Linked DNA regions of Homo sapiens: regions 2, 3, 4, 5, 6 and 7 are each linked to region 1. The links are contacts of gene promoters, found by promoter capture Hi-C in blood cells and fetal thymus (Javierre and others, 2016). All regions are on one chromosome and are shown on one strand. The core of a region is centred on a gene start or on the middle of the fragment in contact, and the rest is flanking DNA. Distances in the headings are between cores, read along the strand shown. Region 1 holds the start of FOXN3 (forkhead box N3). Region 2 overlaps FOXN3 (forkhead box N3). Region 3 has its middle 88 kb from the start of FOXN3-AS2. Region 4 overlaps FOXN3 (forkhead box N3). Region 5 overlaps FOXN3 (forkhead box N3). Region 6 has its middle 20 kb from the start of FOXN3-AS2. Region 7 overlaps FOXN3 (forkhead box N3).

Evidence for each region. Contacts are between HindIII fragments. The CHiCAGO score rates a contact against its expected background, and 5 or more counts as called.
Region 2: a fragment that was not itself captured here is called in contact with the fragment with the promoter of FOXN3 in region 1 in 2 of 17 cell types (megakaryocytes and total B cells); the score reaches 7.3 in megakaryocytes.
Region 3: a fragment that was not itself captured here is called in contact with the fragment with the promoter of FOXN3 in region 1 in 1 of 17 cell types (activated CD4 T cells); the score reaches 6.6 in activated CD4 T cells.
Region 4: a fragment that was not itself captured here is called in contact with the fragment with the promoter of FOXN3 in region 1 in 4 of 17 cell types (M0 macrophages, total B cells, activated CD4 T cells and 1 more); the score reaches 6.3 in M0 macrophages.
Region 5: a fragment that was not itself captured here is called in contact with the fragment with the promoter of FOXN3 in region 1 in 1 of 17 cell types (total B cells); the score reaches 6.1 in total B cells.
Region 6: a fragment that was not itself captured here is called in contact with the fragment with the promoter of FOXN3 in region 1 in 1 of 17 cell types (activated CD4 T cells); the score reaches 5.6 in activated CD4 T cells.
Region 7: a contact is called between a fragment that was not itself captured here and the fragment with the promoter of FOXN3 in region 1, in 4 of 17 cell types (total B cells, megakaryocytes, M2 macrophages and 1 more). The highest score is 7.6, in total B cells.

Annotation. Positions count from the first base shown.
Region 1 is chr14:89,415,428-89,419,516 of GRCh38, forward strand. FOXN3 (forkhead box N3) reads right to left here and starts at 1,806. Exons shown (of 6, transcript NM_005197.4): 1 at 1,444-1,806. It overlaps FOXN3-AS1 (FOXN3 antisense RNA 1), which reads left to right and starts at 1,927. Exons shown (of 2, transcript NR_036500.1): 1 at 1,927-2,369; 2 at 3,733-4,089. RefSeq lists enhancers at 658-952, 967-1,500, 1,501-2,033, 1,658-1,952 and silencers at 1,648-1,857, 1,898-2,187. The HindIII fragment of the contact is 2,355 bases long and covers 532-2,886 here.
Region 2 is chr14:89,161,479-89,165,567 of GRCh38, forward strand. It overlaps FOXN3 (forkhead box N3), which reads right to left. Exons shown (of 6, transcript NM_005197.4): 6 at 1-1,491. The coding sequence ends at 936. Among named protein-coding and RNA genes, the nearest start is that of TRA-AGC15-1, 180 kb to the left of the region's middle. RefSeq lists enhancers at 3,513-4,089, 3,689-3,738, 3,939-4,068. The HindIII fragment of the contact is 1,974 bases long and covers 682-2,655 here.
Region 3 is chr14:89,662,218-89,666,306 of GRCh38, forward strand. No RefSeq gene overlaps it. Among named protein-coding and RNA genes, the nearest start is that of FOXN3-AS2, 88 kb to the left of the region's middle. RefSeq lists a silencer at 3,883-4,080. The HindIII fragment of the contact is 2,309 bases long and covers 725-3,033 here.
Region 4 is chr14:89,199,271-89,203,359 of GRCh38, forward strand. All of the region lies in intron 4 of FOXN3 (forkhead box N3), which reads right to left. Among named protein-coding and RNA genes, the nearest start is that of FOXN3-AS3, 150 kb to the right of the region's middle. RefSeq lists an enhancer at 2,462-2,521. The HindIII fragment of the contact is 4,666 bases long and covers 35-4,089 here.
Region 5 is chr14:89,222,591-89,226,679 of GRCh38, forward strand. The region is part of intron 4 of FOXN3 (forkhead box N3); the gene reads right to left. Among named protein-coding and RNA genes, the nearest start is that of FOXN3-AS3, 130 kb to the right of the region's middle. The HindIII fragment of the contact is 6,945 bases long and covers 1-4,089 here.
Region 6 is chr14:89,594,161-89,598,249 of GRCh38, forward strand. It overlaps a transcript of FOXN3 not described here. Among named protein-coding and RNA genes, the nearest start is that of FOXN3-AS2, 20 kb to the left of the region's middle. The HindIII fragment of the contact is 6,730 bases long and covers 1-4,089 here.
Region 7 is chr14:89,240,800-89,244,888 of GRCh38, forward strand. All of the region lies in intron 4 of FOXN3 (forkhead box N3), which reads right to left. Among named protein-coding and RNA genes, the nearest start is that of FOXN3-AS3, 110 kb to the right of the region's middle. The HindIII fragment of the contact is 3,844 bases long and covers 450-4,089 here.

The DNA.
Region 1 (4,089 bases), core at 556-3,055:
ACGAAGAGAGGGTTATGGGAGTTCAGTACCCTTGGATCATGTGTGCGTTTTGTGCTGGGACCCCGTACTCTCCAACCACTCACTGCATCCCTATAAATCCCGCATTTTATACCAACAGGGTGAAGAGCTGCTGATCACTACAGTTCCATGTAAAAACAAAACAAAACAACAATAACCAAAAAAAAAAAAAAAAAAAAAAAAAAACAGTTCCCAGAAACCACAGCTGAGGAGTTTTCCATTATTATACTCTAACTACAGATTTCGCCAAATCTTTTTTTCCTCCTGTTTCAGAGGGAAAAAAAAAGAATCTGGATCATGTGAGTTGCAGTTAAGCAAACATTTTTAATCTGCTGCCAACAAGGCTGCTCCACCAGATACGCAAATAGTTATTCACTGGTGACCTCCTTACAACTTTTCTCTACACACACACACACACACACACACACACACACACACCCTCTTTTGTTTTTTTTATGACTTGCTGTGTTTTGTTACCCTCTTTATTTTTTAACGGAGAAAATGCGGCAAGAAAGCTTAGTTTCTCGCCTAGTAAACAGAAGGTCTCCAAATAACTGACAAAGACATTACTGGCCCAGCTCTGAACAGATGTTCGATGCGAACTTTAAAAAGTTAAGAAATCTTCCCAGAGCCGAGCAGTAGCGAGTTTGGGGGGCCGGGTCACCCCCGCCCACCCAGCACGCGCGCGCGCGCACGCACGCGCTTCACTCTCGTCTACTGTACTTGTCAAAAACATTTCAAGGGGACCTGCGGGAGTGGCGATTGGCTGCACCCCGCGTCAATCAGCGGCGTTGCCGGGCAACGGGGGAAACTGCTCTTATCCCCATATACAGGGCAATTGGGAGCTCGCATACCTTCACTGCCGGTCAGATGTCATAAACCTTTTATTGGCCGCACCGCGGCGAGCCTCGAAAACAAATCAATAAAAGCCCGCCGTCCCCCAACTTATCCAGGGCCCAAGGAGGGTTTCAAACAGGGCCGGGATGAGGGGGGTCGGGCCTCGGGGGTCTCCGGAGACGTTCGTTGCCTGTGCCAAGTCTGCACAGTTTGGCCGGGGGGTGATCTTTGTTAGGAGCCTGTTTCTCATCTTGGGGTCTCCACTTGATCGGAACCCCCTCCCCGGCCCGGAACGGCGGGGACCCCGTCCTCCGCAGACAATACCAACTCTGTTCCTTGCGGGCGTCTTTTCGGAAACCGAGGCACCGGGAAGCAGCACGCACGTCGGGGCAGGAAACTCTTCGGACCCGGCAACTTCCCGGCTCGGGGGCTCCCGGGGTCCACACCCGACCCTCCCCCCAGGACCTGCGGGGTCCCTCGTCTTCCCAGAGCGGCGAGGTAGTCTCCAGGACCGTCTCGGACGCGCCTCCCGCCCCGGGTGCCCCCCGAGCCCACGCGGGAGCCGGCAGGAGCGGGGTGCAAACTCACCTGGCCGGAGCGGGGCACGGGGGTGCGGGGGCGCCGCTGCCCTTCAGCAGGAGCCGACAAACTTTCGCGGGCGCCCGGCGGGCATCGCTCGGTGGCCCCGCTAAGGACGCGCGGGCGCGGCGCGGCGAGCCCGGGGCGGCGGGCGGCGGGGGGCGGCCGCGGGCGCGGGCGGCAGGGGCGCGGGGGTCGCGGCGCGGCATGGGACCTGCGGCGTCCGCCGGGCGCGCCGCGCGTCCTCCCGCCGGCCCCGCCGCTCTCCCCGCCCCGTCCCGCCTCCCGCTCGCCTCCGCCGCGGCGCGTCGGGCCGGGGCGCGCCGAGCGGCGAGAAATTGTTTCCACTGCAAACAAAAAAAGGCGACACATGACCAGGCAGGAGGAGGGGAAGCGCGGGGAGGGAGGAGGGCGGAGGGAGGGACAGAGCGGAGGGCGGAGGGAGCCGGAGAAAGGGAAAACGTGGGCCTGGCCGCCAGCGGCCTGGGGCGCGGGGCACTGACCCGCCGGGGCGGACCCTGCCCGCGCCCCTCGCGCGCCCCAGCACTCAGCCAGGGCGGAGGCCGGGGCTGGGCCGCGCGGCCTCGCCTCTTGGGCCCCGCGGGGCGGGGGTGACCGGCGCGGGTCCCGCGACCCAGGGCGGCCGCGACCGTGGGCGGTGGGGCAGGTGGGTCAGGCGGCGCGTGCCCTGTCCCCTCCCCGGGCTCCGGCCACACGAGCGGGCCGGCGCTGCGCTGCTGGCAACGTGTCGCGGGAACGCTCCTACCCCATCTGCATGCCTTACATGGCTCGAAAGTAAAAATAAAAAGAATTACGATGCGGGCGAGGCTTGTGGGGGTGAGAAGAGGAGATTCCACGTCTCCCCAGTGCTGCGTCCTGATAGGACCCCCAGGGCCTTCCGAGCCCTCTCCCAGCGACCACCTCGTGTCCCGGAGGTAAGCACCGCAGCGTCCCACCCAGGTGGCCGCGTGTCTCCCGAGGGAGGGCCGGTGGCCATTACAAGACAAGAGGCACCGTCCTAAAGGCCACGCCGGTGGGGCCTCTCAAGTGGGTTGTGCGGAACGCCCCGGCCGGCCTAGAGAGAAAACAGGTCTCATTTCCATCTCAGTTTGAGCTCTCAGGAACCAGACTGACAATTCGCAAGCCACCCAGCGAAATGGTGCAGCCACCACTCTAAGTCTCTAGGCACCTCCAAATAATAGCACCCACTGCTAAAGCCACACCAACCAGCCGCCTTGGGAGAGGATGAGAGGAGAGAGTCCAACAGGACACCCTGGTGGTGACAAAAATAAAAATGTGATTGCACATTACTCCCAGGTAGCCAAATTGGTTGGTTCCTCTACAGAGGAGAAGCCCAGGGCACCCTTCCTGCCACCCCCTCCTGAGCCAGTGGACAGGACATCGTGAGCGGTCTGAAAACTACAGAAAAAAACAGCGAGTAGACCTGGAGAAAGCTTTCTAGCATGCAGTACTTTTAAACCTAGCCAAAAGGAGGGACTAAGGGAAACACCAGTTAGGCTTCTGAAAATTTTTTCTGTCTCAAAAAATAGACCCCCCCCCCCCAATCTGAGAGTCATTCCCCCTAACAAAGGTTCAAGAGGGCAGGTGACAAGTCTTCAGCAAAGATGTGCCTTTCAGACTCACCGGAGACCTTACTACTTCCAAGTTGTGTGGCATCTCCCCATCTGGAGACAATTAGGAGGTGGAAGCCCAGGGGTAGCCTGAGGTCATCCAGCCCCACCCCTTTGATTACTGAGCACTTGATGCGACCTACCCAAAGTCACTAAGCAAAAGGCACAAGGTGGCAGAGACAAGTCAGATGATCTTTGAAGTCTCACGCCAGAGATTCTCAGGGTTAGAAGTGGTAACAAAGCCAGGATGAGACAATGTGTACCCTGCTTTCCTGTAGCTCCGGCTAATGCAGGTCCTGCCCCTCCATCAGCGCGTCAGTTGAGGGTGCTTATTCTCCGCCAGAGGAACCAAGGCCAGAGACCTTTGTCCAAGCCCTTGCTGGCCTAGAGAGGACGAAGTCGCCCCCTTACATCTTCCTCTTCCATCCCCAGCCCCCAACCCCACCCCCAAGTCCCCCAGCTACACTCACACAATAGCCAGAAATCTCTTTATATTAAGTAGAGGTGGCACCTTATTTTCACCGGCCCCAGTCCCCTCCTGCTTTCTCAGAGTTCAAAAAGAGGGGATGTGAGCCAAAGGTGATTGTACATGGAATATGTCATTCCATGTGTGTTTTTGCTTCTTGCATTCTCAAACATATTTCTTAATTTCTCTCTCCCATTACAGTTGCAGCAAGAGATGTGAGAAGGTGTCACCCTGAAGAGGAAGTGGTGGACCAGCCCTGCCTGATGTGGACAGCAGGGGACACATGTCTGCCTGTCGGTCTATCTGAAATGGGGGAAAAAATGCTGAAAGCCAAAGGAGGGCTTAATGTGGCCTTTTCCACCTTCTAATTCCATAGAACCTCAGCTCTGGGACTTGCTTCCTGACCTAGGGTGCAGGGGCCAAATTTGTTTGGGAACAACCCCATTCACAATTCCCCATGAACTTTCAGAAAGGACCCTTGCGTCTTAGGTCCTGAGAAGTCACAAATAAGCAAGCTGCATTGTCTAATGTCTTGTCTACACTGTTTTACAAACACAT
Region 2 (4,089 bases), core at 419-2,918, 250 kb before region 1:
TGGACTTGGTTGCTTTTCACTTGGGCAGTTAAGAAGACACAGCTTGTTTTCCCCATCAGTTTTCTCTCTCTCTCCTTCGTGTGTGTGTGTGTGTGTGTGTGTGTGTGTGTGTGTGTGTGCGTGCGTGCACAGGGCCAATCTTCAGGCTTATGGCTTTTGGAACATTTTCTTAATTTAATAGAGAACAGAATTCAATGATTAGCAACATCACTAAAAATTTACCCCATTTCTTCTCCATGAGTCACTGACACCCGATGCGCATGAACAGTCCAACGTCCACCTCGTAAGATGTCATCGGGCTTCAGGGTTCAGAAGCATCGAGGACTGGTGGCCGGCCCTCTGTGCTCGCCGTGTGACAATTCCAGTGGCTTTCCTGGCACCATCAGATGCCTGGTGCCACAAGCTTGGGTCTGCTCCTAGGGGGACGAGGGGTTCCTCCTCCTCCTCAATTGCTTTATGTGCCTTCACTCAGTGAACCCAATGGGATGGACAACCTGACTTTTTAAACCTAAGGGTTGGGCCTGAACGATGATTACTTTGCCCACGTGCCTTCTAGGTGCCGAATGTGTGTTCCTGTGATATTGACGTTGACATCCCTGCGGATTCAGCCACAGGTTTCTGACAAGCTGGAGGAAGCAATGGTAATTTTGGCTTTTTCGGTTTTGTCTTCAGATAATGAAAAGCTTTTGTAAAACAGCTGAGTGTCAATATGAGTTCTATGGCTTCAATCTCCTTTAAAAATAAAATTCTTAAGGGTCCAAAACAAAGAAGAGGGGGCAAATTAAAACAAAATAAAAGGAAAAGAAAAGAAAGAAAACCAAACCAAAAACAAGAAAAAAGAAAAAAAATTGCTGATATTGCCACAAATCATTAGAAATCTCCTGACATGCTGAAACCAAATGGTCGTAAGTTCAAAACAAATCAGTGACTTGTTTTTAATTTTTTGTGGTTTCCTTTTGCTCTTTCTGCCCCTTTGCCGTCCGATTGGTGATGTTATTCAAACAGGACCGGATCCCTGCTAAGTGCAGGAGGGACCCTGCCGCTTCTTTCATCTCCTCATCATCGCTCTCGGGGGGCTTTTCGGTGCGTCTCTTTTTGAGGGGCAGTGTGTCGCTGGGGACCTTCCTGGCCTTGGCGAAGTGCTGGCGCTTCTTGTGCTGGGATGCGTACCCGCTGTCCCCCAGAGAATCCTTGGGCTCCTTCTGGCTGTGCTTCCTGTCGTCCTCTTCCGTGTCGCTGGGGCTCTCGTGGCTCCGGAAGCTCCCCTCGCTGCCCTCGCTGCCCTCCTGGCTCCCCTTGGTGGCAAACTCATAGTGGTCGTCGGCTGAGGAGGAGGAGGAGGAGATGGAGTCGCTGGTGGGCGAGGTGCTCCGGGCGTTGGAGGACTTGGCACTGCTGTAGTTGTGATCCTCCTTGGGGTCTCCGCTGACCACTGGGGAGCCACAAGATGGCTCACTCTCAGTCCGCATCCGGCAGCTGGTGATGCCATTCCTGCAGAGCGAGGACAGTGGGGAGGGACGGGAGACAAAGAAGGGACACAGTTAGACGTCCTCAGATGGGGGCACCCGGCAGCCCGCCTGCATTCAACCATCAGTCCCTTTGTGTTCAATGGAGCCACTCGCAAACTGTGGGGGCAACAGGTGGATCTGCTTTGAAGGCAGGGTCCTAAATCCTGACACCTCAGTCTCCCCTGCTTATCTCCTATAATGGCAGTTTCACTCCATTTGTGTGGCTGAGACGTCAAAACAACAATCTTCTGAAGCGACAGTGGTGGAGGCTCCATCTCTTACATTAAACCATAAAAATCAAGCTGTGCTTGGTTCGTGTCCCCGCCAACACCACAGAGTCAGACACCGCCAGACGATGTTGGCTGGGTACTTCAGAGAAAAAAGCCTGCTCTCGTCTGAAGCGGCTACATTAGGAGGCTTTTGTCAGAAGACTAAACCAGTGTTCAGCAAAGATACCTGCCATGTGGTGACAGCTACTCACTCATGCATTCCCTCCCTCGTTCATGCAATCTACAAATACTCACTGAGCGCCTAACAGAAATGCATGACCTTAGGGAGGGTTCTGGGGGAGGGACACGGGGTTGGATCGGATATAGACACTGCCACAGCGATGTTGCAGCCTAACAGAGAGGCAAGCCAGGGTCGCATCACAGACCAGAGGGCAATAAACTACGACTTCCCGAACTCAACACCTGCCAGGCGCTCTGCTAAGTCTGTGCAGAGGACCATGTTTAACTCCGTAAGGTGGATATTAGCATCCTTATTTTACAGTGGCTCGAAGTGAAGCCTGGAGAAGTTCAGTGATGTACTTAAAGTCACACAACTGATCACTTGCGGAGCAGGGACTGGAATCAAAGTCTGACTCTCAGACTTGAGGTCTTAGCTACATCACCAGACCGACCCTCCTTTGTGATTTCCCTATAACAAGGTCCCTGCTACCCATGCCTATAAGGCGTCTGTAGCACTCATCACACCTCTGATTATTTCTTTGTGTCTTTACATCTGAGCGATGTACTTTCCTTGTGCTTCCTTATCGCGAAAGTGGGAATAGTAACTACACCTGCTCCCCGTGGGTGTGGGGCTGAGGACACGAATTAATGCCTGCAGGTGCCTGGACCACGGCTTGGCCTGACAGCAATGGCTGTGAAGCTTATTCCTGGTTAGGACCCATGCTCCTTATGTCTGGGAGGCAGCTGCCTGTCTGTTAGTGCCTGGCGCCCAGCCTTCAGAAGGATGAATACTTGCAGGAGAGGAGGGTCACTTGTAGCTGAAGGGGACGAAGGGTGGACGCCAGGGAATGTTTTGTGGAAGACAAGGCATCTGACCTTGGACACAAGGGCTGAAGAATTTGGCAGGGATGGGAACTGTTCTATGGCACCATGCTGGCCCGGTTTCCTGTAAGCTCATCTACCTCGTGATCCATTTCTAAGAGTTCTGGGGAACATGACCATACTTTTCCTGCCTAGATGACCCCAACTGTAAGTACTCTTACATCCCCTCCATAGAGGGCACTCCCCACCATCATTATGAACTGTGTGGTCATGTGTCCCATTAGAGAGCTAGCTCCATGAGACAGGGTGTGGTTACTGCTAGGCCCCCAGTGGCTATCGCCGTGTCAGCACGGTGGACACAGCAGATAAACTGAGGAAGTGCGGCACAGGTGGAATCACGTGGCTGAGAGCATGAAGCTTGGGAAATGACTGTGGGTCTCCACCACCATGACTCACCGGGCACACGCTGAGGATACGGCACTGGTAGAAGGGCTGTGGGGTCAGGACCACCAGTGAGATAACAGTAGTGACAATCTCTACCCTGGCTTTTCTCCTGTCACCCTCATGGGCCTTGAGGCTCAGGGAGACTTCAGCTGCATCCCACATAGAAAGTGAAAGGGGAAGGGAAAGAGTCCCTAATGAAAAGGGTGCAGTAGGGAGTGAGGCGAAGGAGCTGCTCTCCTGGGGCCCCAGGGCCGGTGGTATTTTGCTAAATTTAGGCTGGGGGAGAGACTCCGTACTGTCGTGTCCACCAGCAAAATGTATGAGGGTCATTATCAAAACTCAGCCTTTGCTAGATGTCCGAGAGCCTCCTGATGAACCCCAACACTTACAATGTGTGCATTTGTACACGGAAGTCCCAGTGAGACCCAGAAGGGTCCCAGCTTGTGTCCTGTGCTCCGTGATCCCAGATACACACCACCTCCCCTAAATCCTTACAGACAGAGCCTGGCTTGCAAGCCACACACGCCTGTGCTCATATCCCAGTGTTGCTTACTGGTGACTTTGAGCAGGCTGTTTTACTTCTTGAAGACTCAGCTTCCTCATCTACCTTGTGGGGCTGCGTGAGGATTAAATGAACTGTCCTGAGCACAGAGCAAGGCTGTTTGTGGTGCCTGATCATGTTTTTTACTTGTGGTCCGATTCCTGCGACTTCCTGCTGCTGTGACTTGTTCACTCTGAGCAGTCTTGTTTTCTCTTTCTATTCTGGATCGGGAGGCGTATGGGAACCCAGCACCAAGTCAGAGGAAACAGGCCCTTCAAGAGGAGTTCCTCCAGGGCTTGCCTGTGAACACAGCCCCTGAGCTTTG
Region 3 (4,089 bases), core at 629-3,128, 250 kb after region 1:
GACAGCCTTTCTCTGGCCACTCCATGCCCACTCTCAACCACGAATTTATTACCATGAAAAGTACCAATCTGATGGTGTACAAAGGTAGGGGGGAAAATGTAAGAACAATGCCTTACATTTTCTACATTTTTTGCGTTCATGTATCACACTTGATACATTTTTCTTTGAGATGCCATTTTAACCCCTGGCATCTCAAAGGCAAAGTGATGGTCTCACACCCGGGAATGCTTGCTTAGGTAGGATCCCACCAACTGGCAACTTCCTAAAAGGTGATCACTTTTTCCAAACATGCCTCTTGCTCTATGCTACATTCTCTTTTAACGGTCTTTTTTTTTTTTTAATTTTTTGTTTGTTTTACAACAATTATTTTTTTGACGTTTTTCCTTCTCTTAATGTTACCGTTGGGGCTCAGAAACCCAATACCCTAAAATATGGTGGTCTGACATACTGAACTGAAGAAGCTTCAAGGTCTCTCTGACCTTCTCCACCCCATTGTCTCTCTCAAAAGCTTTATCTGCCTAAGATCCAGACCCACCAGAAGGAACCATTGTTCCTTCTTCTCCTCCCTCTAAGACCAAGAAGGTAACCATACTGGAACAGACCCTTTCACAAGAAAATGAACAAATTAATCTCTGTTCCCTGATCCGTTCATTCTTCCTAGTAATCCCGTCAACAGAGTTCCTCTTCGCTCCCTTCCCATAATGTCCAGCCAGGATGGCATATAAGCTTCCAAACCCCATTGGATGGTCACTGCGTGGCTCTGTGTGTGTGTGTGTGTGTTAAATAAATTGTCTGCCTTTTGTCCCATTAAACTGCCTTTTGTGAGTTGATTTTTCAAGCAAACCTTCAGAGGGCGAAGAGGAAGCTCTCCTTTGACCCTACATTGCTGTAATCTCTTGATTGTCTTGTCTGTCCTTGTTTCTCCTATTTGTTACTTTCTGGAGATGGAAAAGTCAGCCATTTGTCTAATGGAGTTCAGAATGATTTTCATACCACAGCCTCTCTTTTTAGATTGGTCTGTTACTGCCTTCAGTAACTACACCACATAACACCATAGTGTTGCATCATGCTAAATGTTATAATGCCATCTTTTTCTTTAAGGGGTTATTCTCATAGCAATTTAAGTTGAATAAGTAAATCATTGTACTCTTAAGTTATTCCTATCGGTGTGCATAATTTATAAAAACTAGGCCTGCTATTGTGTTATTCATTTTCCTAATTGGGTTAGGTCCATCTTTGGCTCTCAGTTATCTGGTTTACCCTCACACCATCATGAATAAACATCACTGGTCTCAATATTGATTGCTAGAATATCTCAGCCCTAACTTCATCATCACACTCTTTAAATGGCATGGAAGTGTTTTTACGGGCACTCTTTTCTCTCCCAAACCCCCCATTTCATCCTCTGGAATCCCTATAAAATGCTAAGTAAATTTCCTAACATATTCCAGCCTTTACCAAATGTTTCCCCTGCTTCCTGATTATAACCGAAGCCTGCTCTCCCTTGAGGACGTGCAGGGAGCTGGAGCTGGGATGAGGGCAAGATGAGCTCCATATTCTCTTATCTTCTCATTGCGCGGCTGCCAAACCATCTTTTTATTTATTTATTTATTTATTTTTCTGATATGGAGTCTTGCTCTGTCACCCAGGCTGGAGTGCAGTGGCATGATCTCGGCTCACTGCCACCTCTGCCTCCTGGGTTCAAGTGATTCTTCTGCCTCAGCCTCCCAAGGAGCTGGGATTACAGTTGCCTGCCACGGTGCCCAGCTAATTTTTTTGTATTTTTAGAGGAGACAGAGTTTCACTATGTTGGTCAGGATGGTCTTGAACTCCTGACCTCATGATCCACCCGCCTCGGCCTCCCAAAGTGCTGGGATTACAGGTGTGAGCCACCACACCCGGCCAAACCATCATTTTTTACCTTCACGTGAACGTCTCTTTCTCTTCAGCCTCACATCATCCAACTACGCAGCATCTTACAGGTCCTCATGGTGTCATCTGCTGGGACAGAGGCTAACATGGTAGAAGGACTTCATAAATAGCCAAGGAATCATGCCTGTAATCCCAGCACTTTGGGAGGCCAAGGCAGGCAGATCATGAGGTCAGGAGTTCGAGACCAGCCTGGCCAACATGGTGAAACTCTGTCTCTACTAAAAATACAAAAATTAGCCAGGCGTGGTAGCACACGCCTGTAATCCCAACTACTCTGGAGGCTGAGGCAGGAGAATTGCTTGAACCCAGGAGGCAGAGGTTGCAGTGAGCCGGGATCGTGCCACTGCACTCCAGCCTGGGTAACAAGAGTGAAACTCCATCTCAAAAATAAATCAATAAAATAAAATAAAATAGTCAAGGAATTAATGAAATAATGCATATAATTACTGCTCATTTTCTGTATTTATCAAAAATGGCTGAGCCTTCCCCTCTCTGACAGGTCCCTGAGTCATTTCCAGGGTCTTTGAACTTGTTTAAATCCTTGCCTCACTCTTTTTTTCACACCTATATTCCAGTGGCTGTTGCCTCCTCAATTCATGAGTGTACCAAGTTCCACGTCATCTATAGCACTATACTCACTCAAAAATCTTAAAATTCTTGAAGTTCATTCCCAATCAGTCTCTGACTGTCTTTACTGTTCTGCCTATTAAACTATCTATTTCAGTGTTTCTCTGAATTTTGATATCCACAAACAACTTTATGGCTATTTAGAACATGTGGATTTTCCATTGTAGATAAATTGGCTTTTAAAAGATTATTGAAACCGCATGAGTTCCTTTGTTCTGTTGAGGCAGAAATTGGCAGGCAGGGGATTTATTTGGGGAGTGCATTTGAGATTAACATCTGTAGGAGGAAGGGAAAGAAGGAAGGTTGGGAAGAGGGAGAATTAAGCTGCAGTGTAGTCACTGCAAGGCCTCAGTCCCACAGGCAGCTCCTTCAGTATTGGTCTGAACTGGGGCACTGGGATTGAGCCTCCATACAATGGCAACTGGTCATTGGTTGCAGGCTATCCTGGAAAGGGGGTATGTCCTTGGACAAGAAAGCTTTCTTCAGCCTAGGCTATTCCCAAAGAGGATTGACAGCTGAGAGCTGTCAGCCTACAACCTTCCCAGCACATGGGGCAAAGATCTCTTAAAGCCGGGGATCTGGGCAATGTAGTCCAACATCGACAACGGACACTCACTCAGGCTCAGGAGGCACATTGTTCATCATCTGATGTGCTCTGTGGATACAGCAGGGCTGGGTCAGCCTTTAGACTTTCATCTGACTAGCCCAGCCTTTTCCTTGTTATGATTATAGGTAGTGATCCATTAATACTGAGTGCAAATATTTGCCAGTCTACATCAGGGCTCATGGAGTGCCTTATCTGCCCAAATATAAGACAATTATGTACATAAGACAGTAGCTCCATGAAAAAATACAAAACAAAAGCCTTTTGGACAATTTGAATATATATGCATATGATATGGTTTGGCTCTGTGTCCCCGCCCAAATCTCATCTTGTAAGTCCCATAATTCCCACGTGTTGTGGGAGGGGCCCAGTGGAGATAATTGAATCATGGGGGCAGGTCTTTCCCATGCTGTTCTCCTGATAGTGAATGAGTCTCATGAGATCTGATGGTTTTAAAAACAGGAGTTTCCCTGCACAAACTCTCTCTTTGCCTGCTGCCATCCATGTAGGATGTGACTTGCTCCTCCTTGCCTTCCACCATGATCGTGAGGCCTCCTCAGCCATGTGGAACTGTAAGTCCATTAAACCTCTTTCTTTTGTAAATTGCTCAGTCTCAGGTATGTCTTTATCAGCAGCGTGAAAATTGACTAATACAGCATATATGTATAAGTGTGTGTGTGTGTGTGTGTGTGTGTATTTAGAAATGGGGTCTCACTCTACTGCCCAGGCTAGAGTGCAGTGGTGTGATCATGGCTCACGGCAGCCTCAACCTCCTGGACTCAAGTGATCTTCCCACCTCAGCCTCCTGAGTAGGGGGGACCACAGGTACACACTACCACATCTGGCTAATTTTTTTTTTTTTTTTTGGTAGACACAGGGTCTAGATATGTTGCCCAAGATTGTCTTGAACTCCTGGGCTCAAGCAG
Region 4 (4,089 bases), core at 1,118-3,617, 220 kb before region 1:
GGAGACAAAGTGACGCCAGTGAGCCCGGTGCACAAGCTTCTGATGAGCAGGATTTTAGGGAACAAAAATCTCCCACTAAGTTGGACACCAAGTTGTGATTTTACGCATCATCTTTAGGATGGAAGTTGGAGACGGAGAACACCAAGAGGGGCCTTTCTTCTCCAAAAAATGAATCAAAGAGCACCCCAAACTCTTGCTGCTCTGAAGACATGAGGCAAGCTCAAAGCAATGATTAAGCAAACTGAAACTAACAGCTGTTTGTTGGAACAAAAGATGATCTAATTAAGTTGGTAGGTGAGTGGGGGACTCGGGGGGAAAGGGGAAAGGATGAATGATCTATACAAATACTACACTATTTGTGGTGGCTCATGCCTGTAATCCCAACACTCTGGGAGGCCAAGGCAGGTGGATCACTTGAGGTTAGGAGTTCAAGACCAGCCTGGCCAACATGGTGAAATCCCATCTCTACTAAAAATTCAAAAAATTAGCCAGGTGTGGTGGTGGGTGCCTGTAGTCCCAGCTACTTGGGAGGCTGAGGCAGGAGAATCACTGGAATCCAGGAGGCAGAGGCTGTAGTAAGCCAAGATTGTGCCACTGCGCTCAAGCCTGGGCGACACAGCGAGACTCCATCTCAGACAACAACAACAACAACAACAACAAAAACAACAACAAAAACTGCACTATTTTATACAAGAGATTTGAACATCCTCAGGTTTTGGTATCTTAGGGGGTCCTGGAACCAATCCCCCATGGATACCCAACGGATGACTGTGCTTGGATAATTTTTAGGGCCAAAGGGATAAGAACAGATGAAAACAAACAAACAAACAAACACACACATCTCCAAGTAAGCTCTACATTTCATTGGGGGTACTCTGGGTATGAGGCTCCCATTCACACATTTCCTGAGTCTTTCCAGCTTAAATACAGTGACTGGTAAACTCTAAATGAAGAATGTACGGGCTCTGAGGAACAGTATCACAGTGAACCCTGCAAATTCGGAATACATCTGTCCAAGTCAGCTCCCCAACAGGGGGCATCTTTCTAACTCGTGTAAATTGCCCATCTATTACCCCTCATTTCACTTAATCAGGAAGGGGATTCTAGGAAAAGCTACTGGAAGGTAAGTACAGAGCTCAAAGAGCATCCTGGGCTGGGAGCCTGGTGCTGAGGGCTGTCTCAGGCGCCCCAATTCTAAGGTGGTGTTAGGATGGCCGGGCTGGAAGCTCTCCGGGCCTCTCACTTCCTCAGAGTCGATCACTGTCCCTGCTGCTCCTCTGCTGGAGAAATGAAAGGAGTACCTTGATACTCCCCAGGCAGATGCTTTCGTATTTCTGTTTTCTCCGGGCAACAAGAACCGCTTTAACTTTGATGTCTTCTGAGTCCCTTAATTCTAACGTCCTTTTCGCCTCAGCAGCGAGGTCTGCGTCACATTGCCGTCACATTCCCGAATCTGTGATTCCAAAGCAAGTGAACGCATCACCTCCAGCCCTTTGACAAGACACTGCCATCCCAGACACCTCTTTTATCTGGCACTCTAAATTTTCCTACTGATCAACATTGACTTCTTTAATATCTTTGACCAGTTGATCAAAATCTTTCTAGCAGCTGCCTAGGAAAAAACTCAAAGAACCATGTGGACAGAAACTGAGAATACCAAAAAATCTAAACTTCTAGATTTGAAGCCCAGGACAAAGGTGACAAATGACCCAGACCAAGTTATGATCCTGTCCCATGGGTAATAAGACAGAGCCATTATTGAAGAGGCAGGGGGTTTTGATTTGGTTCTGTTTGGCTTGTTAACTGTGCTGGACTTGTCTGAGGTCAGTTTATATATTTTTTAAATTTTTTAAAGCTCCCTATAGATGAATGAGAAACTACACATTCCTCTCAAGTCTCTTCCCCTTTGCATCTCATCCAGTTGTGAATCTCTGCTTACTGCATTCTCTGGTTTCTGTCTCCTGGGTCACCCCTCTCTGGGGATGGCAGTAGCTCATAGCCATGTGCACAGGGGACATTTGGGGTTGCCGTGGAAGAGATTCTGACCCTGCAGGGAGGGAGGAGAGGGCGATTAATGCCGAAGCCCTCTAGAGTCTGGCATTCTTTGCTTTGAAAATGTCCTGCTTGCTCCTGGTTTCTTCATCCAGTGTTACAGCTGAAGCTCACCGCCCAGGAGGGGACTGGAGCCAGCCTCAGGTGCAAGAAGGCTTCCACAGGGCAGGAACAGGAATGGAGACTCCCAAGAGACCCCAGAGCACCTCAGAGCCTGGCCACACTGGTGTCCAAGAGAAAGGATGTGCCACGGCCAGAAGCCAGAGGTGGGACCAGGAAGCCCCTTGAGACCACAGCCAAAGGCCCAGGGAGATGCTCAGAGTATAGGGGCCTGGGCACGGCCAGCCAGGGACCACCAGTGCATCTTTCTTGAGTCTGTTTTTCCCCCTCTCTATGCTATAAGGTCATCTTCCCCAGTGATTGGCTTTCCCCAACCATCACTTCTCTCCACTTATTGGAAGATAGCTCCTGCCCAGTTCCCACGCCAGAAGCCACTTCCTCCTCTAGTAAAAGGGTTCGTGGTTGCTGGTAACCCCTGCACCAACTTTCCCACAGCTGTGGGGGTGCTCATAGTGGCTTGGCCCCAGCAGGCATGGCAGTGCTTGTCAGTGCTGAGAATTGAGTATTTCCACATGCACGGCATCTTCATTAACTCTGTCTTCAACTGGGTCAATGTGCAAATAATCTTTTACAGAAGGAAAGATTCCATCTCAGAGTGACACTGGCAGGTGTGTTAGTGAGAGTAAATACCACGCAGAACCCTGCCATCAGTGCTTCAAGGCACACACTAACTGCGTGCCCACCTCTCCACTGTCTTCCTCCCTAATGCTCGAGCACTGAAGAACTGGAGGGTGACTCTGAACATAGGCTCACTTTGCCTGGGGATGTATGTCTTATACTAACTCAAAATAATTTAAAAAGGAACTATGGAGCCAGTGATGTTCCCACACCTGACACCTGCCTCTCATTATAGAGACACAGGACGTAGTCTGAGAACAAAACCTCACTGTGTTCTTTCTGGGTAGACTTCTACCATATTGAATCACACACCCGGTCCCACTATGCCATAAACCACTGTTCTGCTGAGGCAATCTCTTTGTTACAAAAGGTTTTGCCTTTTGATTTCCTTACTAGAAAGCTGCTTCTCAAACATCTGGAAGGGGATTTGTAATGTGCTACAGTTTAATGTGCTCGACCTCTCTAAAGCACATGCTGAAGTTTGATCCCCAGCATTGGAGGTGGGGCCTCACTGGAAGTGTTTGGTTCACGGGGAGGATCCCTCGTGAATGGCTCAGAGCTGTCCTTGTGGTCATGAGTGAGTTCTTGCTCTATGTGTTCCCGTGAGAGCTGGTTGTTAAAAAGAGCCTGGCACCTCCCTCCCTTCCCCCATCTCTCTCGTGCTTTCCCTCTCACTCTGTGATTCCTCCCCTCCGCATTTCGCATGAGTGGAGTAGTCTCAGATCTCCATCAGAAGCTGGTGCTGGCGCCATGAAGTTGTACAGCCTACAGAACCATGAGCCAGATAAACCTCTTTTCTTTATAAATTACGCAGGCTCAGGTATTCCTTTCTAGTAATACAAAAAAACCCCACAGAACTTTGGAGCCTAAATCTCTAAGATCACGTAAATTCTGCAGCTGTGAGATGCTACAGCTCTGGGGCAATGGTTATCTTCCACAGCCAGGAGTGACCCACCATTTCCCTTTTTTAAACTTTAAGACAGGTCCAGTGGTGCTCTAAGAACCCATCTGCAACCAGGGAATGTGGGGGGGGTGGGGGGAGGGGGAGTGAGGAGAACATATTAAAAATAAAATAATTCAACTATTTACAGCCCATCAAGTAATCAGTTACAGATCCCCAGCAATAGGTACTCCAGGGGGCTGAAACCCGAGAATGCAATAGGTAGAGATGTTGAGGGGAGGGGACTTCAGAGGGATGTGCGGTTTCTCACCTTGACTCTTTATGCCTGCACCACAGGATTTAAGAGCAGTTCAAGCAAACATCGCAGAATTCCCTCCCTTTGCTACAGTGGACTTCCA
Region 5 (4,089 bases), core at 610-3,109, 190 kb before region 1:
GAGTCAGGGGCACAGACACCCAGCCGAGCTCAGGAGGACACCTGTTGGTCACCGAAACATCTCAGCAAGCCGGGAAGGCAGCCCCACCTTCCCACCCAAATTCACCTAGGAAGGCGATGCCCAAAACTACCTGGGATGACACAATTGATGGTTTCTTTAGTGAAATAAACATCATTTTCTTTGCTCTTCTCTCCTACCTCCCTCTACCCTTCCTTTAAAAAATAAAATAAAATAAAAATTTTAAAAAAGGAAATAATTGGGGGCAAAAGTTTTGCTGAGAGTATCTAAACTATGGAATCTGCCTTTAGTGTTTCTGTAGGATAAGAAACAATTTGGCCTCAATTTTTTTTTCTTTTTAAACAGAGACAGGGTCTCACTATGTTGCCCAGGCTGGTCTTGAACCCCTGGGCTCAAGCAATCCTCCCACCTTGGCCTCCCAAAGTGCTGGGATTACAGATGTGAGCCACCGCAACTGGCCTGGGCTTGGTTTTTAAAAAATGTGAACTGGAGAGCCAGATTTACTTACTGGTCTGTTATTTCCTGCAATCTCAATGACCGTGAGGCTTGTGACTGAGGCACAAGTTGAGTTGAGCCACTGTATGCTAGATCTATGAGGATGGGAGGCCGAGGGTGGAAGGGAAGCTGGCGAGGCTGTGTCGGGTGGTCCTGAAGTCGGCCTCCAGTGGGAAGAGCACTAGTCCCTGGGTGGGCAGGTGCAGACCACGGGCTGTGGTTCCAAGGCCAGACCCCATGGCCTCCTGCCTCCCCTTTCCCACAGCAAAGGTCACCACAAAGGCCAGGGGCAGGTTCTCCTGGGAGATCGCCCAGGGTGCAGGTTGCTGATGGCTTCCTACATTTCGGGTGAGAAGGGGCCTGCTTGTCCACCTTTGTGAGCTTCCTCAGGGCGAAGAAGAATTAGAAATTCCGAGGACTGAACTGCATTCCTGGGCAGCCTCCAGGAGCCTCCAATTGCTCAGACTTTCCTTCTTAAAGTTGCCAGAAGCCCCTGGTAGGTCCCTTTCAGAAAGCATCTGATTTGGAATTTATAGCAATTCTCCCACTGGGCAGTCGAGGGTGAGAGGTGGGCCGGGTGCGGCGCTGGTTGCTGGGGAAGAGACGTTTCCAAAGATCCCTGAGGTGTGGAAGTCAGGGGGAGAGGCGTCCTCATGGGAAGCAGGTCTTTCCATGCTTGGACAATTTGTGTGAGCATCTTTTACCCCCAGGAACATTTAGAATAAAGCAGAGAAATGCTTAAGGAAATCAGGTCTGTAGAATGAATTCCTTAAACAAGACATCAATGCAGATCAACATATCGATGCAGATCAATGTATCAATTGTTCTAACTATTTGAAATACTCACTGTATTTCAAACATAGTATTTCAAATATTTATAACGATTAAGAGAATCTGTCCATTAGAATAACAGACCAGCCTTGAGACTTTAACTTAAAATGTGGCATTAAATAATCAACTTAGATTTTGATTTGAAGTCAAAATCTCAGTAAGGTCATATATACTATACAAGAAAACTTAAAAGACCACAAGGTGTAACATACTTATGAGCTTAATTAGACTTATAAGAATTGCTTAAGTGCTCTAAGAGGCTTGTTTGTTGAGTCAGGCAATTGAGTACTTATAAATTTAATAAGTTCGATTTCCTTTACAAATGCAGCTTAAAATGTTTAAAGGAGTTTAATTAACTAAGTTTGCAAATCAGACCAAACATTAATAAAAGGCCTCCTTAAAAGTGATTATTAAAAACTGATAGGCTTATAAATAAAATGAGATCTGTGAACACCTGTCAAAAGCCTAAGGAGAGGTGAGAATTTAGATTTCATAACTTTCATAAAAATTAATTTCAAAGAGTAAATATCAGAATTACCTTTTCTGCCCCAAATGCTTTGGAACCCTACCTTGCCCATATGATGTGATATGTTTTAGTTTTCCATCTTCAATAACAACTTATTGAGGCACCTACTGTGTGGCAGGTACTATACCAGGCACAACTGGGTATGTTCTAACAATCATCTGGTAGGAGAGATGTAAATATGTGCTACATGAATAACTGCTACATTAGAAAACGGGTGACAATCAACTAAGGAAGACAAAATGCTACAGAAATTCAAAGAACATACATCAATGAAGGCATCATAATAAAATCTTATTTGGAGGCCAAGACAGGAGGATTGCTTGAGGCCAGGAGTTCAAGACTAGCCTGGGTAACATAGCAAGACCCTGTCTCTATAAAAAGAACTTAAGGACGGGTGTGGTGGCTCACGCTTGTAAGCCCAGCACTTTGGGAGGCCGAGGCGGGCGGATCACGAGGTCAGGAGATCGAGACCATCCTGGCCAACGTGGTGAAACCCCATCGCTGCTAAAAATAAAAAAATTAGCTGGGTGTGGTGGTGCGTGCCTATAATCCCAGCTACTAGGGAGGCTGAGACAGAAGAATCCCTTCAACCAGGGAGTCAGAGGTTGCAGTGAGCCGAGATTGTGCCACTGCACTCCAGCCTGGCGACAGAGTGAGACTCCATCTCAAAAAAAAAAAAAAAAAGAACTTAAAAAAGAGCCAGGTGTGGGGATGTGTGCCTATAGTCCCAGCTACCTGGGAGGCTGAGGTAGGAGGATCACTTGGACCCAAGAGTTCGAAGCTGCAGTGAGATGCGATCACGTCACTGCACACCAGCCTGGGTGACAGAGTGAGACTGTCTCTGAAAAATATATAATACAAAAGCCGGGCACAGTGGCTCATGCCTGTAATCCCAGCACTTTGGGAGGCTGAGGCAGGCGGATCACGAGGTCAGGAGATCGAGACCATCCTGGCTGACATGGTGAAACCCCGTCTCTACTAAAAGTACAAAAAATTAGCTGGGCATGGTGGTGGGCGCCTGTAGTCCCAGCTACTTGGGAGGCTGAGGCAGGAGAATGGCGTGAACCCAGGAGACAGAGCTTGCAGTGAGCTGAGATCGTGCCACTACACTCCAGCCTGGGCGACAGAGCAAGACTCCGTCTCAAAAAAAATAAAAATAAAAATAAAAATATGAAATAATATTTGAACTAGATCTAGTCTGCAATTTACTTTTTGAGTTGACCCCCTCCCTCACTGTCCTGAAGCATCATCCGCTGACCTGAGTTTGCCTTACACACAGGTTCACGCTTCTGCTCTTTTACTAACTGGAAACTCAGCTTTCACAACTCTGTTAGGATCGTGTGTAACATAAAGGTTAACAGGATGTGAGTGAAGGCCCATCAGGCTCTCTGAAAGGGTTTATTTCACAAACGTTTTAACATCTTCACTCAGAACTCTTTCCATTTCCTTTGAGACCTTGGTTCTCCATTCTCTACCCATCTTATAGGTGAGGTTGTCAGATAATTGGCCTCTGGACAAGTATTCTTCTATAAGTAGGTTTATCCCTGACCAATTTTAAATGAAGAATAAGAGCAGCTTTATTTCTAAAATTAAGTCCAAAAGGCAAGAATGCCATTCTGATGAGAAATTAGTAAATTCCCAAGTGATGGGGGCGGGGGGAGGGGAGGGGAAGGAAATCTAGTTGTTTTCTGACCATTGATCTACCAAGGAGACATAAAAAAAAAAAAAAGGAGGGACAGGGAGAGGGAAAAGGAGAGGGAGAGGTAGAGAGAGAGAAAGGTAGAGAGAGAGAATCTTACTGTCAACCAGGCTGGGGTGCATTTGGTGTGGTCATAGCTCACAGTAGCCTCACATTCCTAGGCTTAAGTGATCTTCACACCTCACCTTCTCTAGTAGCTGGGACTACAGGCATGTACCACCATGCCCAGACAAGTTTTAAATTTTTTATAGAGATGGGGTCTCACACCACCACGCCCAGGTAAGTTTTAAATTTTTTGTAGAGATGGGGCCTCACTATGTTACCCAGGCTGGTCTCGAACTCCTGGCCTCAAGCGATTATAGGCATGCACCACCATGCCTGGCCAGGGAGACTTTTATTTACTCGCTAGAGTAGTATGACTAGTGGGAAAATTTCAGATTATTCTTCATTAAGTGTTATTGGTTGACCTGTGCCTCCCCCAACCCCAATTCATGTGTTCAGGTCCTAACCAGTACCCCAG
Region 6 (4,089 bases), core at 436-2,935, 180 kb after region 1:
CTATGAACATTTCTATCCATAATTTTGGGTACATATGTATTCACTTTTCCATTGTGCCTGTACATCAGGATAGAACTACTGACTTACAGAATACGCATATGTTCATCTTTTATTAGGTAATGCTGATTAGTTTTCCAAAGTGGTTGTACCAATTTACACTCTCACCACCAGTGTATGAGAATTCTCATTTCTACAAATCCTCACCAACTCTTGGTACTGTAAGTAATTTTCAACTGTAGGCATTGTGGTGGACATGGAGTCACATTTCACGTGGTTTCTAATTTATATTTCCCTGAAGACTTATGAAGTTGAACAACTTTTCACATGTTTATTCAACATTTGAATATCCTCTTTGGTGAAGTCCCTATTTAAGACTCTTGTCCATTTTTCTACGGGGCTATTTTGTTTTTCTTGAATTGATTTGTAGGAATTCTTTGCATATCCTTCATATAAGCCTTTTGTAAATTATAGACGTTGTAAATATCTCTTAAGTTGCCTTTCATTCTCTATATCTTTTGATGAACAAAAGCTCATTTTAGTATAGTCCAATTTTATCTGCCTTCTCCTTTATAATTGGTTCTTTTGGGTCCTGGCGCACACCTGTAATCCCAGCTACTTGGGAGGCTGGAGCAGGAGAATCACCTGAATCCGGGAGGCAGAGGCTGCAGTGAGTCGAGATCCAGCCTAGGCAACAAAGTGAGACTCTGTGTCAAAAAAAAAAGTACCTTTTCTACTCTTGGCATTTTGTGTTTCCACATAAATTTTAGAATTGGCTTCTCAATTTTCACAAAACCCTCAGGATTCTGATTGGGATTACACTGACTCTATACATCACTTTGAGATGAACTGACATCTTTTAAAAAGTAAGTCTTCCGGCCAGGCGCAGTGGCTCACGCCTGTAATCCCAGCACTTTGGGAGGCCGAGGCGGGAGGATCACAAGGTCAGGAGATCAAGACCATCCTGGCTAACATGGTGAAACCCCGTCTCTACTAAAAATACAAAAAAAAAAAAAAATTAGCCGGGCACGGTGGCAGTCGCCTGTAGTCCCAGCTACTCAGGAGGCTGAGGCAGGAGAATGGTGTGAACCCGGGAGGCGGAGCTTGCAGTGAGCCGAGATCACGCCACTGCACTCCAGCCTGGGCAATTGAGCGAGATTCCATCTCAAAAAAAAAAAAGAAGTAAGTCTTCCATCTCATAAACAACATATATCCCTCCATTTATTTAGGTCTTTAATTTATCTCAATAGTGTTTCATGGTTTTCAATATAGGGGTCTTGTTAGATTTATTCCTAGATAATTTGATTATTTTTATTCTAATGTAAATTCATGTTCTGATTATTAGTGATAAAGAGAAATACAATTTACTTTTTTCATATTTACTTCATATGCAACAAACCTGCTAAATTCATTTTAGTTCCAACAACTTAACCGAAATTTATTTTGAATTTTCTTTATACTCAGTAATTTAGTCTCCCAATAATTAATAGTTTTATTTATTCCTTTCTAATCCTAATACCTTCATTTCTCTTTCATGTCTCATCACACTAGCTAAGATCTGCTGTGCAATAATGAATAGAAGTGGTGATAGATGGCAGATTTGTTTTTCCTACTCTCAAAGGGAAACTTTCAACATTTCACGCATTAAGTATGTTTTTTACTTTTTAATGATGTAGGCTATTTTTTGTATATATGCTTCTTACAGTAAGAAAACTCCCTTTTTATTAGTTTGCAGAAATCTTTTTTAATCGAGAATAAATGTTAATTACATCACATATATTTTCTACATCTATTGAGATGATCATGATTTTTTCCCTTTATGCTGCTAATATACTAAATAACACTTACTGATTTCAAATATATTACACTAACCTTGCATTTCTAGAAGATAACCAACTTGATCATGATGGAGTAATTTATTGCTAGATTCATACTACTAATATTTTGTTTAGAATTTTATTTATTTATTGAGACAGATATTTTATTGATTGATTGATTGAGACAGAGTCTCACTCTGTCACCCAGGCTGGAGTGCAGTGGCACAATCTCGGCTCACTGCAACCTCCGCCTCCCCGGTTCAAGCCATTCTCCTGCCTCAGCCTCCCAAGTAGCTAGGATTATAGGCACGTGCCACCAAGCCTAGCTCATTTTTGTAGTTTTAGTTGACGGGCATTTCACCATATTGGCCAGGCTGGTCTCGAACTCCTGACCTCAAGTGATCCTCCCACCTCAGCCTCCCAAAGTGCTGGGATTACAGGCGTGAGACACTGTGCCCGGCCTTGTTTAGGATTTTAAAATTTATATTCATGAGTGAAACTGGCCTGGAATGTTCCTTTCTTATAACATTTCAGTCAGGTTTTAGTATCAAAATTCTCCTGGCCTCTTGAAACCAGCTGGGAGTATTCCTTCTTTTTCAATTCTCTAGTGGAGAGTTTGTGGAAAATATGTGTTATTTCTTCCTTAAATATTTGGTGACCTCAACAGTAAAACTATCTGGATCTGAAGTTTTCCTTATGGGAAACTTTGTAATTACATATTCATGAGGAGACATAGAGCAACTCAGCCTGTTATTTTTCTTACAGCAGTTTCAGTAAGTGGCATTTTAAAATTTTTGTCCATTTCCTCTAAAATGTCAAATATATTGCCATAAAGTTTTTCATAATATTCTCTTACTATCTTTTAAAGATAGTTATACCCTTTTTTCATTCCTCATAGTTGTTGTTGGTGCTATTTTTTCTTGATTAGTCTCACCAGGATTCATTGATTTTATTAGTCCTTTGGCTCTGTTGATTCTCCCCCCATTTCATTACCTTTTATCTTGTCTTTATTATCTCCTTTCTTCAACACTGTAAAAAAAATTTAGTTGTTCTTTTCTAACTTCTGGAAATTAATGCTTAGGTTATTTTTAAACCTCTCTTCTTTTCTAATATATGCAAATATAAATAGGCTTTAAATATCCCTCTAAGCATTGCTTTACATGCATTCCACAATTTTTGCTGTCATATTTTCATTGTCATTAATTTCCAAATATTTTCTACTTTCCATTGCCATTTATTCTTTGACTTGTGATTGCTTAACTTCTAAACATATGGGGATTTTTCATTTATATTTTTTGTAATTGATTTCTAGCTTAATGTCACTGTAGTTGGAAAATATACTCTATGATTTCCATCCTATACTCTATGATTTCCATCAATATGTTAAGAGTTGCTTTATGACTCACCAAATAGAGAACACTGGCAAATATTCTATGTGTACTTGAAAGGAATATCTACTCTGTATTTGTTGAGTGCAATGTTTTATAATTAGATGATGTTTGTTAATTAACTTTGTTCAAATTTTCTATATCCTTATTTATTTTGTCTCTAGATTGTACCAATTACTGAGAGGTGTTTTAAAATTTCTAACTATATAGATATCTGTATTTCTCCTTGTAGGTCTTATAATTGTGTGTGTGTGTGAGAGAGAGAGACAGAGAGAGAGCAAGTGAGTGCAGTATAAGTGAATTGAATCTTTCTTATTATGAAATATCTCCCTTATCTCTAACAGTGTTCCTTGCCTTACAGTTATGCGATCTTTCTTTGGGTTAGCTATACAATCTTTCTTTTGCATGGTATATCTTGCTACATTCTTTTGTATCGGGCCCTTCTGTACGTTTATAAGAAAGGTATGTCTCTTTAAAGCATAGTTTTAAAAATCCAATCTGATAATCTTTTGACTTTTAATTTGACTATTTAGTCTATTTATATTTAATATAATGGCTGATATTTGATATAAATCTATTATTCTACTATTTTTTATTTGTCTCACCTACTCTAGGATCCTTTTTCTATTTTTCATCTTTGTTTGAATTTCTTAAGTATTATTATTCTATTTTCCCTCTTTCTTAGCTTGTTATTTATACATTCTGTCATCATTCTTTTAAAGATTATCTAAACTTTAAAACATGCATCCTTAACTTATCAATGACAACACAACTTCGTTATCACTTCCTGTACACTACAAGGAACTTAGAATGATTTAACTTCATTAACTTCTTTGGATTTATGTTCTACTTTTACCATGTATGTTATTCCCTACATATTTTAAACT
Region 7 (4,089 bases), core at 1,122-3,621, 170 kb before region 1:
CATACTAAAAAGAAAAGGAGAAAGGGCCTGAGTGGAGCAGTAACCTGCCTGGGGTCCCACGAATGGCCCAGGGGTAGGGCCGGGCCTGGCTCCCAGGACTCCCAGCCCAGGGTTCTTTCCACTGCAGCAGCATGTGTATAGACAGTTTGATTTTATTCCCTCTACGCCTCACTCAATACTTGCCACCCACAATAATCACTCTTGGAAAAACTGCACCCACTTCCCAGTGATTTTATTAGTTAGCAGTGACTCTGACAAGCCTCCATTTTCCAATTAGCGCTACCCCCCATATCACTGACACTGGCATCCTCTGAGTGACATGTAGTGGCTGAGCCAGACACTCCCTAACCAAAGTGACACAACGGCATTGCTCTTCGATGGCCTATGGCTCCAAGTGCAACCCAAACGTTTAGACCGATTTTAGATTTCTGTATAGATAGCTCATGCCAAGCTTAAGTTCACACGAATGTTCACAAATATTACTTGGCCTGTAAATTATTCCCAGCAAATTTTCCATTTCAGGCCAACTTCTACTCAGCCACTTCCCTATTAACTATCTACTGCTCTCTGTGCATGCTCATGAGGTGGCCACCGTGAGCTTGTGAAAATTCAACCCAAAGCCACCATGGTGGCTGAATGAGACAGACACACGTGGGTTCTGCATTTTGGGCTCAGCCAGCATCAGTGACCCAGCTTCCTCCTTTCTGGCTGTGTGACATCAGGTGATACACTTACCTTCCAATCTCAGTTTCCTCCTATGTAAAGCGGAGTGCCTCAGGAAAGAACCAGAAAGCCTGCTGGTTCTGTGGAAACAGTAACTGGAGTTGTTCATACCAATGATTCCTTTTCTCCCACTAGGCAACAGACAGTTGATTATAAATAGTTTTTTGGGATTCTCTTCAGAATCCCACGCTCCTGCCCTCAGTGTCAAGGCTCTGGGATACAGCACGTGGAACCCTGGAGAAGCATGAGAAGTTGCCACTGGAGGCTAGATAAGAATCTGGAGTCTCTGTCTCTCTCAAGAAAACAGAAAATGGGGCTCTGTTTGGGGTGTCTATCCCACTCGCAATGGGGGGCCTCTTCCCCTCGGAGCTCTGCCTCTCCCCACCCATGGAGAAAGCCCCTGGCTACCACGTTTTTTCTCCATGCTGCTGCTCCCCCGGACAAGGCGTCAGGACCAGGTAGGTCACATGCTTTCAGTGACTCCATTCACAGAACTTCTGTTGCTCCTGGGAAGTGGGCACTGGAACTGAAAGACAGCCAGGCCACCTGAGCTATTCTCTTCCATGGAGGATATTTGGCTTGAATGCCACAAGGTGACCACTGATCATCCTGCACATGGCATTAGAGAAAACAAAGAGAACACAGAAAGTGACAGAGAGAAGGTACGAGTGGTGCCCGCGTTCCTGGCAGCCTTCCAGGTTCCAGTCTTGATGACCGCCAGCTATTATACATGCTTGGCCTTGGGGTCCTGAGAGACCCACAGTACTTCCTCCAATAGATTCCCTGCCCTCATATATATATATATGCATTTCTTCCTAAACTTGTTGCTTTCTGTTACTTGCAACCAAAAGAAGCCTAAAATATTCTGATTCCTATCTGTATAAATCTCCATCAGTATTTGAGAATGGCCTGAAGGTGGCACTTTCCATTCTGAGACAAAGAATTACTATAAAAATGCTGAATTTGTGGCATTACCTTTATTTTGCCTGATTGCATTACTCAAACAGAAAGAGCTATGAATAATAATAATAATAACGATACCACTAAAGTAAAATATTTGACACTCACAAGATTAAAAGCTGAATACAGTAATCTTCTCATAATCATCACGGGATATGCAGCACTTAATCAACAATTACACTGGGAAAATGCCCGCGACTTAATGCTTAAGTACCGGGAAAAGGCAAAGGAGAAAAGTAGGAAATCAATGCAAGGGGAGCAAGAAGTGTATCCAATCTAAATACTGCATGTATTATGATAACAGAGTTCTACATTTTCCTATCAAGGCTATGCAGAAAAATAATAAAAACAATCCAAGAATACACACCCCAAACCAAAACACTCTCGTGAAAGAGCTATTTTTAAAAATCACTTAGAATATTCATCTGATGGTGACACAGTCCATTAATCGGGGTGCTTATTTTTTCTTAACAGCTTTATTAAGGTGTAATTTACACATTCTTTATGCCCAAGTTTCTTCCCCGAGTCCTGCCCCCTGATGGGAGACGGAAGTGGAATGGCCCATGCAGGAAGCCAGAGCCTGGTGGAATAAGAGGCAGCAGTGTGGCCGACGCAGGGAGGAGAGAAGACAGACCCTCCCTCCCAGGAGGGGGCTCCTATCCCCAAAGGGCCTGCCAAGTGATTGTTAGGAAGTAGGTAGGTATATTCATATCTAGAACATGTAAATTTTTTTAAAAAAAGCAAAGCCTACTTGCCAGATCAAAATATTTCATGACCCAGAGCAAGTAACTCAGCAACCTTGGGAAATAAGCAAGCATTTACAACAGCCCACAATCTCTTTTGGCTGTCAGATCTTTACAACATGAGTTTTATTTTTAATGTTCTTTTTAAAGAGCTAATTCTTCATTCAGGATGCGCCTGCCCGATGCAAGCAGCACAAACACCCGCATTGTATTATAAATAGCCTCTTTTAAGGAGGGCTGGGTGGATAGCAACATTTTTTAACCTAGATACAGTTGTGACAACCCGTGACCTCCACACATCAGCCTTATTGTGTTATTTTATGAAGAATGTATCCTTGATGACTGCAATGATAGCCAATGAGGCCACAGTATGACTTCATGAACACATAATAATGCTGCCCTTTCATTTTCTGAGAGGGTTTATCTTCCTTCTGCTACAGGTAAATACAGTAAATTTGACATCATGGAATACAATTGAAGTAGCAAATGATCAATGTCAACCACAATAACAGTGCTTCAAAAAATTACCTCAACAATCCTATTTTCACCATTTTCCACAACCTATGGAAGTGAGGGAGTGGCATGAATGGGCACCTGGTAACTGAGAGGGAAGAATCTAAACATAGCTGCGTCTGCATCGCGCCCGCCAATGAAACCACATAAGCCCTCCCTCCGGGATGCATCAGTTCACATAAGGGCTCCCCTAAGCTCCAACTCGCAGGAGAATGAAAACAATAGAAAGCTATCTTCAGCCCTGGCTCCACAAGAAAAGCTCATTGCACTGATGCTAAGGTGGCTTTGCAGAGGAAACAGCTACAGACAAACCAACCCCCAAACCCAACTCTTAGTCAACTAGTCAAGATAGGCATTCAATCTTAATACTAGAGATCTGGGAATCCTCTTTACACAGAACTGAGGTGAAATCACCCCTGAGAAAACCAAGCAAAATGAAATCAAGTCCCTGCAAAAGACAAAATATTTCCTTAGACATACATACATGATATTGGTAACGGCCTTCCCTGCCTTTAAATTTGACCTTATAATACAAATGCAACCTCAGGCAAGTTCCCAAAATAATGCAGGAACCTTCAAATATTTCCCCGTCTAAGCCATACCTACAAATGTCATCTATAAGCCCTCCTATTGTATCCTTAGTAAGCAAAGAGACACAGGAATCTGCCTCTGGCCAAATATGCTCAGAGTTCACCTACCAACTGTCATGAAAACCTTGCAAAGTGTGAAGAGTATGAAAAGGCAAAGCTATTAGACTTTTTCTAGGTCTGTTGACTGATTTCCTATAGGTTCTGGGCATATGCTAATATCAAAGCTGAAATACAAAAAGAAATTGGCCCTTCAGGATAAGACCAGTATAAGAATTTCACTTCAAACAAGATGAAAGGAAAACCACTTACCTTGTCTTATAGCTACAAGAATGAAGATTCCCCATACTTAACTTGCTTAAGATTACAGAGAAGAGAAACATACCAAAAGTTAAGATCAGGGAATGTGAAAATCCGGTTACCCTTCAGATACGTACAAAACAGTGTCAGTTTCTGGAGAGAGGCTACAGCACGATGATAAAATGTTCAAGCTAGAGGGCTCCTTAGAAATCATCAAATTTTCTTTTTGCACTGGGCACCTGTGCGTTCATTTCCTTCAACTC